Regions from separate parts of the Homo sapiens genome. Here all the other regions are linked to region 4. The links are contacts of gene promoters, found by promoter capture Hi-C in blood cells and fetal thymus (Javierre and others, 2016). All regions are on one chromosome and are shown on one strand. Each heading gives the region's core, a stretch centred on a gene start or on the middle of the fragment in contact. The rest is flanking DNA. Distances are from core to core; before and after follow the strand shown. Region 1 overlaps DIRC3 (disrupted in renal carcinoma 3). Region 2 overlaps DIRC3 (disrupted in renal carcinoma 3). Region 3 overlaps DIRC3 (disrupted in renal carcinoma 3). Region 4 holds the start of IGFBP5 (insulin like growth factor binding protein 5).

Region 1 (2,700 bases), core at 143-2,642, 1.0 Mb after region 4:
GCTAGACCAATCCATCTGGACTAGACTTGCAAAGATAAGGAAGACAAGATTTAAAGAAAAGTTTAATTGATTTCATTTTCCTTTGAATGAATCTGTAGACTACAAGAAATCAATATTGGGACTTTGCTGTTTCTGAGGCATTCTCAATTATCTTTCATCCTTTATTACCTGCAAAATTAAAAGATTCTACTGCAAAGGCCTATCCTTCTGTCTTTCTTTCCTTTGAACAGTGTTGATCGAGGGCCTTCTCTGTTTTACGCAGTATGCTGCCACTGAAAATACACAAGACAAGTAAGATAGAGCCCACCAAGGAAGGAGTTCAAGTTCAATAGGAGAAATAAACAAGGAAACAAGTATAATTCATGCTCAGACCTTCTCTCGCAGTTCCTGCAGCCCAGCCACAGGCTCTGGCCTCTCTCATTCTATTGCAGGTACAACACACAGCCCCTTCTCTGGCACATCTACCCCATGGCCATGCCCACAAACCATTCGGTTATTTTTAATAACTTATATTAAGCCTTTCAGGAGACAGGATCACCCCCCCCCAACCCTGCCAGTCTCTTCTACCTCTTGGCTGCCCTTCACTTCTTTCTCTTTTTTCCTCTCCTTACTCCCCTTTCTCAGAAGCAACACAAATTTCCCTACTTATCCTACACATAGCAGTTCTGAGGGCATCTTTTATCACAGCCTTCAGCTGAGCATGCCCTTGTGTGTCACCCTCCCCCATAGTGACTCAAAATCTTTCTTCAAAATAAATACAGGACCCTCCCTAAAAAAGTTCTGGAGAGGGAGGGAAGCGGGCCTCCATCTGTGCTCAGACCACAGAGCTGCACTCAGAATGGAATGGGTCCTGTCCGGTACAAGATAGAAGAGGCAGCCTGGGTGGGAAATAATAAAGAGAATTCTGGTGGATGCAGTGGATTTCTTGTTCTCAGCAAGACCATTCCAGAAATGTAGGGAGTTGGCCCATGGGCTCGCCAATGTTTGGGTTATGTTTCAACCTTGATTGAGCACCAGAACTGTGCACAGTGCCAACTCCCAAGTGCTTTGAGGAGGGCTGGGTACATCATGCTTCTCTGTTTTTGTTTTTGGGTTTTCCCCCCATGTGCCTGGGATGTTTCTTCCATTAAAACCAGGACTTTTCCTCCCTCTGCGCCTCCACACAGAATCCAGCCCAAGCCAATCAATACCCCTAGGACATGCTAAATCTATTTTAGTGCCAAAAAATATAAATAATTTATTTGAAAAAATGCTGATAACTCCACAGAGAACTTTTTCATGCGCTGTGTCATTTCACTCCAAATTCCTTAATGAGAAGGGGGTCTCTTGCTCAGTGGTGACACGGCAATGCTAGGCTGTTTCTTTAGACATTTCTGCCTAGAAAGAGAAGGAAGACCCCTGAGCACGAAGCAGGTTCTTCCCACAACGTGGTGTGGGAGTCTCTGCTTCTCCTCCTCTGACATACAGCTCTTCCTATGTCCTTCTTATACACAGGATCTGCATCTCAATTCAGAACTCCAGATGTGGTCTCTCCAGCAGACAAGCATTCTTGCTAAGGTATCCTAAATAGAACATTCCAGAAAAACACGATTATTGTCTTCAAAGAGACCTGTCATGTAAAAGATGTATTAAATTTACCCAGCACTATGTCAGAAGAGAAGAATGAAAACGATAGGGGCTGCTAGAAGGCAAAAACATAGTCATTGTGTAAAAAAGGCTTTTAAACCAAAACTAGAATTGAGCTATTCTGAACACCTGAAGTTAGGTATTATCTCAGCTTTGGTCTCCTCAATATCGATTCATAGCATTGATTTGCACGGGGTATTAGAATGTCCTGGAGAAATAACTTGATCCATGGCCAAACTTGGGGTTCAGACACAGAAATAAGCATGATTAATTTGAAGTGTGTAGATAGAACATGTTAAGAGAAGCTCTATTTCAAGGGCAGCAGAAAAGGAGAATCTGTAATGGAGGCAGGAAAATACTGGATTGCGGGACACAGCCCCAGACCTAGGCATCAAGGCTGAGAGTGGAAGTTCTGGGAGAAGCAAGGTGGTGGACTTGCTTTAATCCACTCCAGTCCCAGGGACCCTAATGGCATGAGCATCCCATTGAAAGGAACAGGTCTTGTGTATACATTAAAATAGCCATGATAGCTAAGGACTCAAGCAATTCCTCAGAGAGAACCACAGAAGAGTAGCCTAACAGGAAAAGGAAACCATTTCTATCCTGGCTGGAAAAAATTATCATCAAGTAGCTTGGAGCAACAGGGAGTATGTCAGTTGTCTAGGGCAGAAAGGCCCTGGCACAAGATACAGAACAAGTGCAAGTTCATAGACAGAGCCTGGGACCCAGCCACTGGGACATCAGAACTACTGGCCCAGAAGACAGTAGTGGCCCCAGCTCCAGCAGTGGCTTGGCAGATTCAGACATCCATGTGAGGTAGCCCTTATGGATTTTCACAGAGGAAGTGGGGAGAGTCCTCTCATAACCATCATTATCACAAGGACCAAAATCCTGAAGCCACACAGAGGAAGGTCACTGATATGGTTTCACTATGTCCCCACTCAGATCTCACCTTGAATTGTAATTCCCATAATCCCCATGTGTCAAGGGCAGGACCAGGTGGAGGTAACTGAATCATGAGGGCAGTTTCCCCCATGCTTTTCTTGTGATAATGAGTGAGTCCCACGAGATCTG
Region 2 (2,701 bases), core at 32-2,531, 1.1 Mb after region 4:
AAATGGAACTCATCCATTTTGGTGGGTGGGGATGTAAATTAGTACAGCCATTATGGAAAACAGTTTGAAGGTTTTTCAAAAAATTGAAAATAGAACAGTGACACAAAACAGCAATCCCACTACTGGGTATTTAACCAAAAGAGAGGAAATCAGTATATCAAAGGGATACATGGACCCCCATGTTTATTGCAGCACTATTCAAAGAGCCAAGATATGGAATCATCCTAAGTATTCTTCAAAGGATGCACAGATAAAGAAAATGTGGTGTCTGTATACACAATGGAATACTATTCAGTCATTAAAAATGATGAAATAGTGTCATTTTCAGCAACGTGGATAGAATGGAGGTCATTATGTTAAGTGAAAAAAGCCAGACACAGAAAGACAAATATTGCATGTTCTTACTGATATGTGGAAGCTAAAACATTGATCTCATGGAAGTAGGAAGTAGAATGATAGTTACCAGAGGCTGGGAAAGGTGGGAGTAGAAGAAGAAAAGATGTTATTTAATGGGTACAAACATATCATTACATGGAAGAAATAGGTTATAATTTGATGGCACAGACAGCTAACTATAGTTAATAATAATTTATTGCATATTTCAAAACAGCTAGAAGAGAAGATTTGAAATGTTCCCAACAAAAGAAATAAATGTTTGGGGTGTTGGATATCCTAAATACCCCGACTTAATCATTACACACTGTATGCAGGTATCAAAATATCACATGTACCCCATAAATACAATGGGACTCCAAAAAGCTTATGAGAAAACATGGAATCAAAATATACACTTTATTTCTCCACATAAACTTTACCAAAGTCAAGACACTTTTGTAAGCTATGACACCAGCCATTTAATACATTTCTAAAGAACTGAGGGTCCTGGAAATTTAACCATGTCAATGCAGTCTTTTTACATTATTAAACAGAGAAAAATGGATGCCCTCTACAGATTTTTAAGATTAGGAAACAAAAAGAAGTCAGAAGGGGCCAAATCGGGACTGTAATGTGGATGCCTAATGATTTCTCATCAAAACACTTGCAAAATTGCACTTGTGTAATAAGAAAAATGTCACGGTGGAGAAGAACTCTCTAGTGAAGCCTTCCCAGGGGTTTTCTGCTAAAACTTTGGCTAACTTTCTCAAAACATTCTCATAATAAGCAGATGTTATCACTCCTTGGCCCTCTAGAATGTCAACAAGCAAAATGTCTTGAGCATTCCCAAAACCTGTTGTCGTTACCTTTGCTCTCCACCAGTCTGCTTTCGCTTTGACTGGACCACTTCCACCTCTTGATAGCCATTGCTTTGACTGTGCTTTGTCTTCAGGATCATACTGGTAAAGCCATCTACCAGGATCATACTGGTAAAGCCCTGTTTCATCTCCTGTTACAAGTCTTCAAAGAAATGCTTCAGGATCATGATCCCACTTGTTTAAAATTTCCATTGAATGTTGTGTTCTTATCTGCAGATAATCTGGGCACAAAAGTTTTGGCACCCATCAAGTAGAAAGTTTGCTCGACTTTAATTTTTTAGTCAGAATTACATAAGCTGAACCAGTTGAGATGGCAATGGTGTTGGCTATTGTTTGTGCTGTTAATCATCAGTCCTCTTCAATTAGGGCACAAACAAGATGAATTTTTTCCTCACAAATTGATGTGAATGGTCTGCCTCTACAGGCTTCATCTTCAACATTTTCTTATCCCTTCTTAAAACAAGTTATCCATTTATAAAGTGCCAATTTCTTTGGGGCATTTTCCCCATAAACTTTTTGTAAAGCATCAGTGACTTCACCATTCTTTCACCAAAGCTTCACCAGAAACATATGTTTGTTCTTGCTTTAATTGTAGCAGAATTCATGTTGCCCTGATAGGGGCTCTTGTCAATCTGAGGCCTTATCCTTCTTAGTGCCTCAAGCTAGATCCTGTTTAGACATGCTGTAACTAATTAGTATGAGTTCATTTTGGTACAAAAAAGTTGGAAATTCATGCATCATTTTTTCATAATACACATTTTCCATGAAGTTTTTGAAGTCCCCTCATATGTACAATTACTTTGTACCAGTTAAAAATAAAAAATAAAATAAAATAAAATAAAATAAAAACAGTTGAATTTGTTTGGGTTAGCATTTCCACTGAATGTATGAGCTATAAATAATTGTGTAATTTAAGTGATTTTACTTGTGAGTTAAATATTCTTATATTTACATTTAAAACTGGCATTGCACAATATAAAGACGAATGTTATCATACAAATAATTTTTTTATTTGTACTTAGAATGAAATTGAATACCAATTTTAAAATGCCATGACAACTAGGAAAGAAAGGAAAATGCTTTATATTTTAGTATCTTTAATGGCATTTTTTTCTCCTGGCATTTTACACAAGGGGCCCTGCCTATTCATTTTGCACTGGGACCCGCAAATTAGGTAACCTGTTCTTCAGAGCTTTTTGACTTTCATTACAGCACTTTTATTCAGCATGTGCTCGTATCACTTTAATTATTTTTCAAAATATATGTGCAAGTTTTTAAAAATAAAAATAAAGCTAGACTTTTCTGCTTCTGAGAAAATAGAGCAGATGCACTTTTCCCTATTTCCCCTATTAATTATGACTAAAACTCTGGAATGAATATATACACACACCAAATAAGAAACTCCGAAAGGTGAGAAGAGGGCAGACCCAGTAGGGACTTTAGACCCT
Region 3 (2,909 bases), core at 336-2,835, 1.0 Mb after region 4:
AAGTACCGGCCAGGTGCTGGACACATGGTAGGTACCCAGTCATTATGGTTGAATTAACTGGTTAAGGAAACTAGAAAGTAATTCTTCCAGAAGAAAAAAGTTGAGCATGAAACTTGGTATTCTCTCCATTTTGCATCCGTATGGGAGGAAGATGCAGGGAGGCTTAGATTTTAGAATGATGATGGGAGTGTTAGAATGACAAACTAAGGGATTTTTCTGGTTCCAGTAACTTGGTATGGATTAAAAAGCAACAACTTTCGTCACTCAGCACTCATGGTGTTTTCCTCAATTTACAAAGTAATAAGAGTTGGCATGAAACTTGAGAGTTATTCATATCCTTGTAGGGTTTAACTTAAGTGGACATGTCACAAGAAATGTCCTAATAAAGCTTTGATTATGAAATTACCAATTTTCCATCTGCCAACAATATTAGGGAAAAGGCTACTTTATTGTACTTAGGAGTTTGCCTCTTTTTCAACTTGCTTTTTACAACTTCACTCATCAATAGTTTTAACAATGTGTTCTATTCCATTCCAGGATGTGGGAGTCAATCATGTGTAACAAAAGGCCACCACTGCCACATGCCCTAAGACATGAACAAACCCCTCATAAGCTGAGTCAGCAGATCTAAATTGATAGCCAGACAGCAGAGGCTGAGGACAGCGCCTCCCTCAAAGCCAAACAACAGGGGTTCCTGGACTGGGCCATTCTTTAGAGGCCCCACTCTGGCCTTCCTCTGGCCTTGGGGCTCTTCACAGGGCAAGGATTTCACAGGCCCAAGAGAAGATACCAGACCAAAGCTCAGGGCTTCCTTCTGAACCACACACTCTGGGTTCCTGTCTGGGCCTCTGCCCAGGGTGTCCCCCTGCAAGATTGGAGCCAACCACCCCTCTAGCGCGCGCACACACACACACACACACACACACACACACACACACACACACCCCTAGACTGAAGGGGCAGCAAGGCTGGGCTGCAAGAGCTGGCACCACCACCACTCCTACCCTTGTGTGCACACAGACACTCTAGATTCAAATTGGGGGCTTGGGTAGGAGGAGCAGAGGGGTGGGCGGGGGCGAGGGACAGTCCTCCCTGCTCCAGTATATTCCAGCTCAGGTATCTGCAGAGTCTGAAGTTCTAAATTTAGAAGCTGATTTTCTAGGTTGTCATAAAAGGTATTATGTCTCCCAAATTACAATTCCTAAGACCCCCCAAATAAATGCCAATATCTTACATCTTACCTGGCTTCATTTCAGTTTGGTTAACAGTATTTTGTCAAGGATGAAAGAAAGAACATACAAGTTTGCAGCTTTGCTTATAATTCTTGAATACTTAGCCATATACTATGGAGGAATGAAGTAAGAAATGGAGCCCTCCATTCCCACTCCCACCCTGGGCCCCTCTGAAGTCAAGGCTGAGCAGAGAAGGCACTTCTCCCTATGGAGGCCCTGGGAGCCCACTGCTGCAGGGTACAAAGCCTTCGGGGAGGGAGCCGGCAGCACTAATCCCAGAGCAGCCTCCAATCTTTCTCTGAGAGAAGGAAAGAGGGACTTTCCTGGGAAGTGGGGTGAGTTGCCCTGGTCACTGCAGTTCCTAAAAGTCAGCTGTTTCCAAACAGGGAAGAGAAGGAGATGAAATCAAAGAGCTTGTGCTGGGGAGGCAGAGGGGGCCTAAATGGTCTTTAAAAGGGCCTAGAGGGGTGACTTTCTTTTGCTGATTGTCTACGAGGCTTGGAAGGACTTTGAGAGAAGGTGGAAGGGGTGGAGTAAGAGGGCAGAGGCAATCCTGGTTTTCCCTTACCTTAGGGCTGCTCGGCTGAAGGAGTGGGGTTGGGCTCTAGGTCAGGTGGCAGCAGAGGTTGCTGGGTCCAGAGGAGTTCCCAGGACAAGACTCTTAGGACTGCCCATCACTTCCAGCACGCAGGGCGTACTTCTCCATGAGGCACAGTGCAGTGCCTAGAAGCCACAATATTTCTAGGGGCCCTCAAAAATGTTTTTATTTTAGTTGTCTTTCAAAAATCAGAAGAAAAAATGAATAGAATACAAATGAGTATACAATCATGAATCCAGCCGGAATTACATTTGTTTTTATGCCAATGTAGTCATAAAGTATAAATTTTAATATTTTTCTCCAGGGGTAGGACTCATGAGGGCGAAGTGCCCACAGAAGTCACGCTGTGGCCCTGGGCAGCAAGAGGCCTTCTGAGGGCTGCAGCCCCATGGGGAAGACGCAGCTCAGATCTGAGGACTAACTCCACCAAAGCTGTGAGTGTAACAGCGGCCAATTGAATGTAGGAATCCAGTTAAAGCACTTAGCACCAGTCCAGGAACACAGCAATAAGTACAGGGTATCCTGGTAACTGCTCATGACCATTGGCCACCAATAAATGGTTGAGTATGCTGGGTAAGAGCACAGGCTTTGAAGCCAGACAAATCTAGGTTTCCATCCCTGTTTTGCATCTCACCAAAGCTGTGACTTTAGGCAAGAATCTCAGTTTCTCCAGCTGGAAAATGTGGATAATACCCTCAGAGGACAGTACAGAGCCCCACACATAATAGCTGCTCAATGAATGGTAACGATGAATACTGACAGTTTCAGGACCAGCCAAAAGGCAGGTACCCACAGGGTAAATGAGAAGCATCTCCCATCCCAGAACATCTCCCCTCCCCAGCCTGTCCCTCATTGCTTCAAATCTGCTATGTGAACTGATGTTTGTTAAAATGTAGACAAGATTCCCAAGAGCAAAGTAAGACAGTGAGCTTGGGGGAATGGGTGTGAAGGCAGAAGCTTGCCAGAGCCTCACCACGCCTGTCAGCTCAGCATCCAGGAGGCATAAGTAGAACTGGGGCAGGGGCTCTGGAATAATCTGAATGACAGATTCTTGATCCAGGACTAGAAAAAAAAAAAGA
Region 4 (2,824 bases), core at 50-2,549:
GGCTAGACAGTTCCCCCGGGTAGCAGGATCCTCCAGGGCTCCAATTCCGGGGTGCAAGGACCCTCCCCGACTACTCCCGAGCTGCACCCCAGCTCGAAGCCACTTGCTGCGCAAAGCGCGCGGGCCCAGCCGGTCTCGTGTCCCCCGCCCGTGCGCCGCGTAACTGACTGGCACACTGAGCGCGCTCACCGATCTTGACTTGCTCGCGGTAGCTCTTTTCGTTGAGGCAAACCCCGCGGCCGTGCAGCAGGGCGTGCAGCGGCTTCTCCTCGTCCTGCCGGGGGAGGCAGCGCAGCCCCTGGGCGCAGCGCTCGGTGTAGACGCCGCACGACTGCCCCTCGGCCAGGGCGCAGGTCATGCAGCAGCCGCAGCCCGGCTCCTTGACCAGCTCGCAGCCCAGGGGGCTGGGGGGGCACATGGAGAGGGCTTTCTCGTCGCAGGGCTCGCAGTGCACGAAGGAGCCCAGGCTCTGGGCCGGCCCCGCATAGGCGGCCAGCAGCAGGAGGACCGCGGTGAGCAACACCATCTTCTCTTAGTCGCCCCCTTTACCTCGGGGTGGGGCAGGAGAGCGAGAGTGCAGGGATAAAGGGGCCAAGAGGGCCCCCGGAGATTTTTTTGTTTTTGTTTTTGTTTTAAAATTTCTGGCAGGTAGAGCAGGTGCCCTCCCCCAGACACTTGCAAAAATGTAGAGAGAGGTGGAGGGCTGGGGTGCCTGCGAGCAGGTCCCAGTTGCAAGAATTAAAGCCTTGCAACAGGTTGGGGGAAGCAGGGCAGCGCCAGGTGCACGCAGTGAGCGGAGGCCGGAGAAACCCTCAAGCCTGAGCGGGTCAGAATTATAGGGGAAAAAAAGCCACAAAATTGTTCACCCCCAAGCAACCACCGAAATAATGAGATCGGATGCAGTGGAGATGGCGTTGGGGGTGGGAGAGAAAAATGGATTTATCTTTAAAATTTTTGCTTAAAATCTAAAATACACCCCGCTTTCTAACCCTCAGCTGCCAGCGGTGCGCGGCGCCGCAGAACAGGTAAGAGGCGTTGGCTGCAGCCGAGAGGGTGGGAGAAAATGTTGAAATCAAGAAATTAAAAAACAAAAACAAAAACAAAAAAACCCCAAACCCTAACACCTCTTTTCTCCCACTTTGCCACCTCCTCTTCGAAATTCGCAGGTTCTACGCGAAGTCCGGAGAAGGGTGAAAACGGAGGAGGGGTAATGAAAAGGAGCAAAAAAGGGAAAAAGCCCACACTGCTTTGCAGCTCTTTCCTAGCTCTTTTCCCCTGCAGAAGTTTCCAAAGAGACTACGGGGCTCCGGGAGAGCAGGCGCTTTTAAATAGCCGGCCCCTGGCTGCCAGCCAGTTTGTAGCTGCAATTTGAGCTTCCCAACACCCAACTCAGGCAAGGATGCCAAGGAGCTTTGCAGTACAAACTCACACGGGGTGGGGGTGGGGAGAGGCCTTCTAGACACAAGGGGGCTCCCCTTCGCTCCCTGAACAGCGCCCTCCTCCCCTCTGAACAGCGCCCTCCTCCCCCCGGAATGTAAGAAAGGGGCAAGGGGGACAGGCTGGGGCTACCGAGAATGGGGAGGAGGTGGAGGGGCCAGTGGAAGACAGAGTTCTTCGGAGCAGGGTGAACACAATGAGGAGAGTAACTTCGTCTCCCCTTCCCTCCTATCCTTTAAGTAGTCAAGGCACAGGCTGAAGGGAGACGTATTTTCTTATTAGCCAACTGGATATACCGTGCCCAAGAAATCTTCCTAAGCTTCTGCAATTGACTGTATGCTGGTGTCTGTTTCCATGTGGGGTGTGTGTGTGTGTGTGTTTGGGGGACAGGTAGTGTAGAATGGCCAGTGATGTCTGGTGAGCTAAATTTAAAAAAGAAGAAAAAATTGAATTTCTCCCCTAAAAGTCTGGAGAAGAGGATTTAATCAGGGGGTTTCAGTACTCATGATGAAGAGGTGACCAGTTGCCTTCAGCTGCGTTGGCCAGGGAGGTTCTCTCTCTCTTTCTCTCTCTCTGTGTGTGTGTGTGTATGTGTGTGTGTTGTGTATCTGCAGGAATGGACATTCATACAACAGCATTATTGAGAGCAGTGAGTTGCAGAGATGGACACTTTGGAGGAAATGCTAAGTCTGAAAACCTTGCATGGTGGCCTAAAGTGTCCTTGTGTGTGGGGTTCTTAGAGGGAAGAAAGGTGGATTGGAGTGACACTTCCCTCTCTGTCACTTTGCAGAGGTATTTCTATTGGGCAGGGCCACATCCCTGGAGGGAGTGGGTGGCAGAGTAGCTGGAGGAGACCTTGTGATAGGTTGACAGGTTAGTTGGTGCTTATAGGCACATCCCAGGAATATGAGCTGACAGGGCCACAGGACCTGCTTGGAAGAGGTCCTGACCAGGAACCGAATCATGCCACTAGAACCTCTTTAATAAAATGAAAGAAAACTAAGGCCTTGAAATAGGAAGGTGGTGGTTTTAGCTTTTTCTGAAATTGACCTGAGTGAGCCATGAGCCTCACAGGCAAGTCAGAGAGAAATGACCAATGTCACTGCCCCTGCTGGGTGGACTTGGTGTGGGCTGTTACACCTTTTACATTGTGCTTCCTCCCTTGAGAAGTATTCTAACTTTCCTTTGGAGAAGGGGCTGCATTTCATGAAGTTTGCCACTAGACTGCACCCTTATCTATGATAAGAATTCTTTCTGGAGGACTGCTTTCAAGAAAATATTTTTTCTTGCTCGTTCAGTTCAGGAGCATCTCACTTTATGCCGTTAACACCCCCAGATCCTGATCTCTCTTCTCACTTATCTATTTGCCGAAAGGCACATTTTAAAA

What was found. Contacts are between HindIII fragments. The CHiCAGO score rates a contact against its expected background, and 5 or more counts as called.
Region 1: a fragment that was not itself captured here is called in contact with the fragment with the promoter of IGFBP5 in region 4 in 16 of 17 cell types (naive CD8 T cells, total CD4 T cells, neutrophils and 13 more); the score reaches 21.4 in naive CD8 T cells.
Region 2: a fragment that was not itself captured here is called in contact with the fragment with the promoter of IGFBP5 in region 4 in 3 of 17 cell types (total CD4 T cells, naive CD8 T cells and activated CD4 T cells); the score reaches 7.5 in total CD4 T cells.
Region 3: a fragment that was not itself captured here is called in contact with the fragment with the promoter of IGFBP5 in region 4 in 16 of 17 cell types (non-activated CD4 T cells, total CD4 T cells, naive CD4 T cells and 13 more); the score reaches 18.5 in non-activated CD4 T cells.

The regions. Positions count from the first base shown.
Region 1 is chr2:217,697,887-217,700,586 of GRCh38, forward strand. The region is part of intron 2 of DIRC3 (disrupted in renal carcinoma 3); the gene reads right to left. Among named protein-coding and RNA genes, the nearest start is that of DIRC3, 91 kb to the right of the region's middle. The HindIII fragment of the contact is 3,270 bases long and covers 1-2,700 here.
Region 2 is chr2:217,775,027-217,777,727 of GRCh38, forward strand. The region is part of intron 2 of DIRC3 (disrupted in renal carcinoma 3); the gene reads right to left. Among named protein-coding and RNA genes, the nearest start is that of DIRC3, 14 kb to the right of the region's middle. The HindIII fragment of the contact is 1,049 bases long and covers 758-1,806 here.
Region 3 is chr2:217,736,684-217,739,592 of GRCh38, forward strand. The region is part of intron 2 of DIRC3 (disrupted in renal carcinoma 3); the gene reads right to left. Among named protein-coding and RNA genes, the nearest start is that of DIRC3, 52 kb to the right of the region's middle. The HindIII fragment of the contact is 2,399 bases long and covers 387-2,785 here.
Region 4 is chr2:216,694,250-216,697,073 of GRCh38, forward strand. IGFBP5 (insulin like growth factor binding protein 5) reads right to left here and starts at 1,300. Exons shown (of 4, transcript NM_000599.4): 1 at 190-1,300. The coding sequence starts at 526. It overlaps IGFBP-AS1 (IGFBP5 antisense RNA 1), which reads left to right and starts at 197. Exons shown (of 6, transcript NR_187138.1): 1 at 197-512. The HindIII fragment of the contact is 8,390 bases long and covers 1-1,754 here.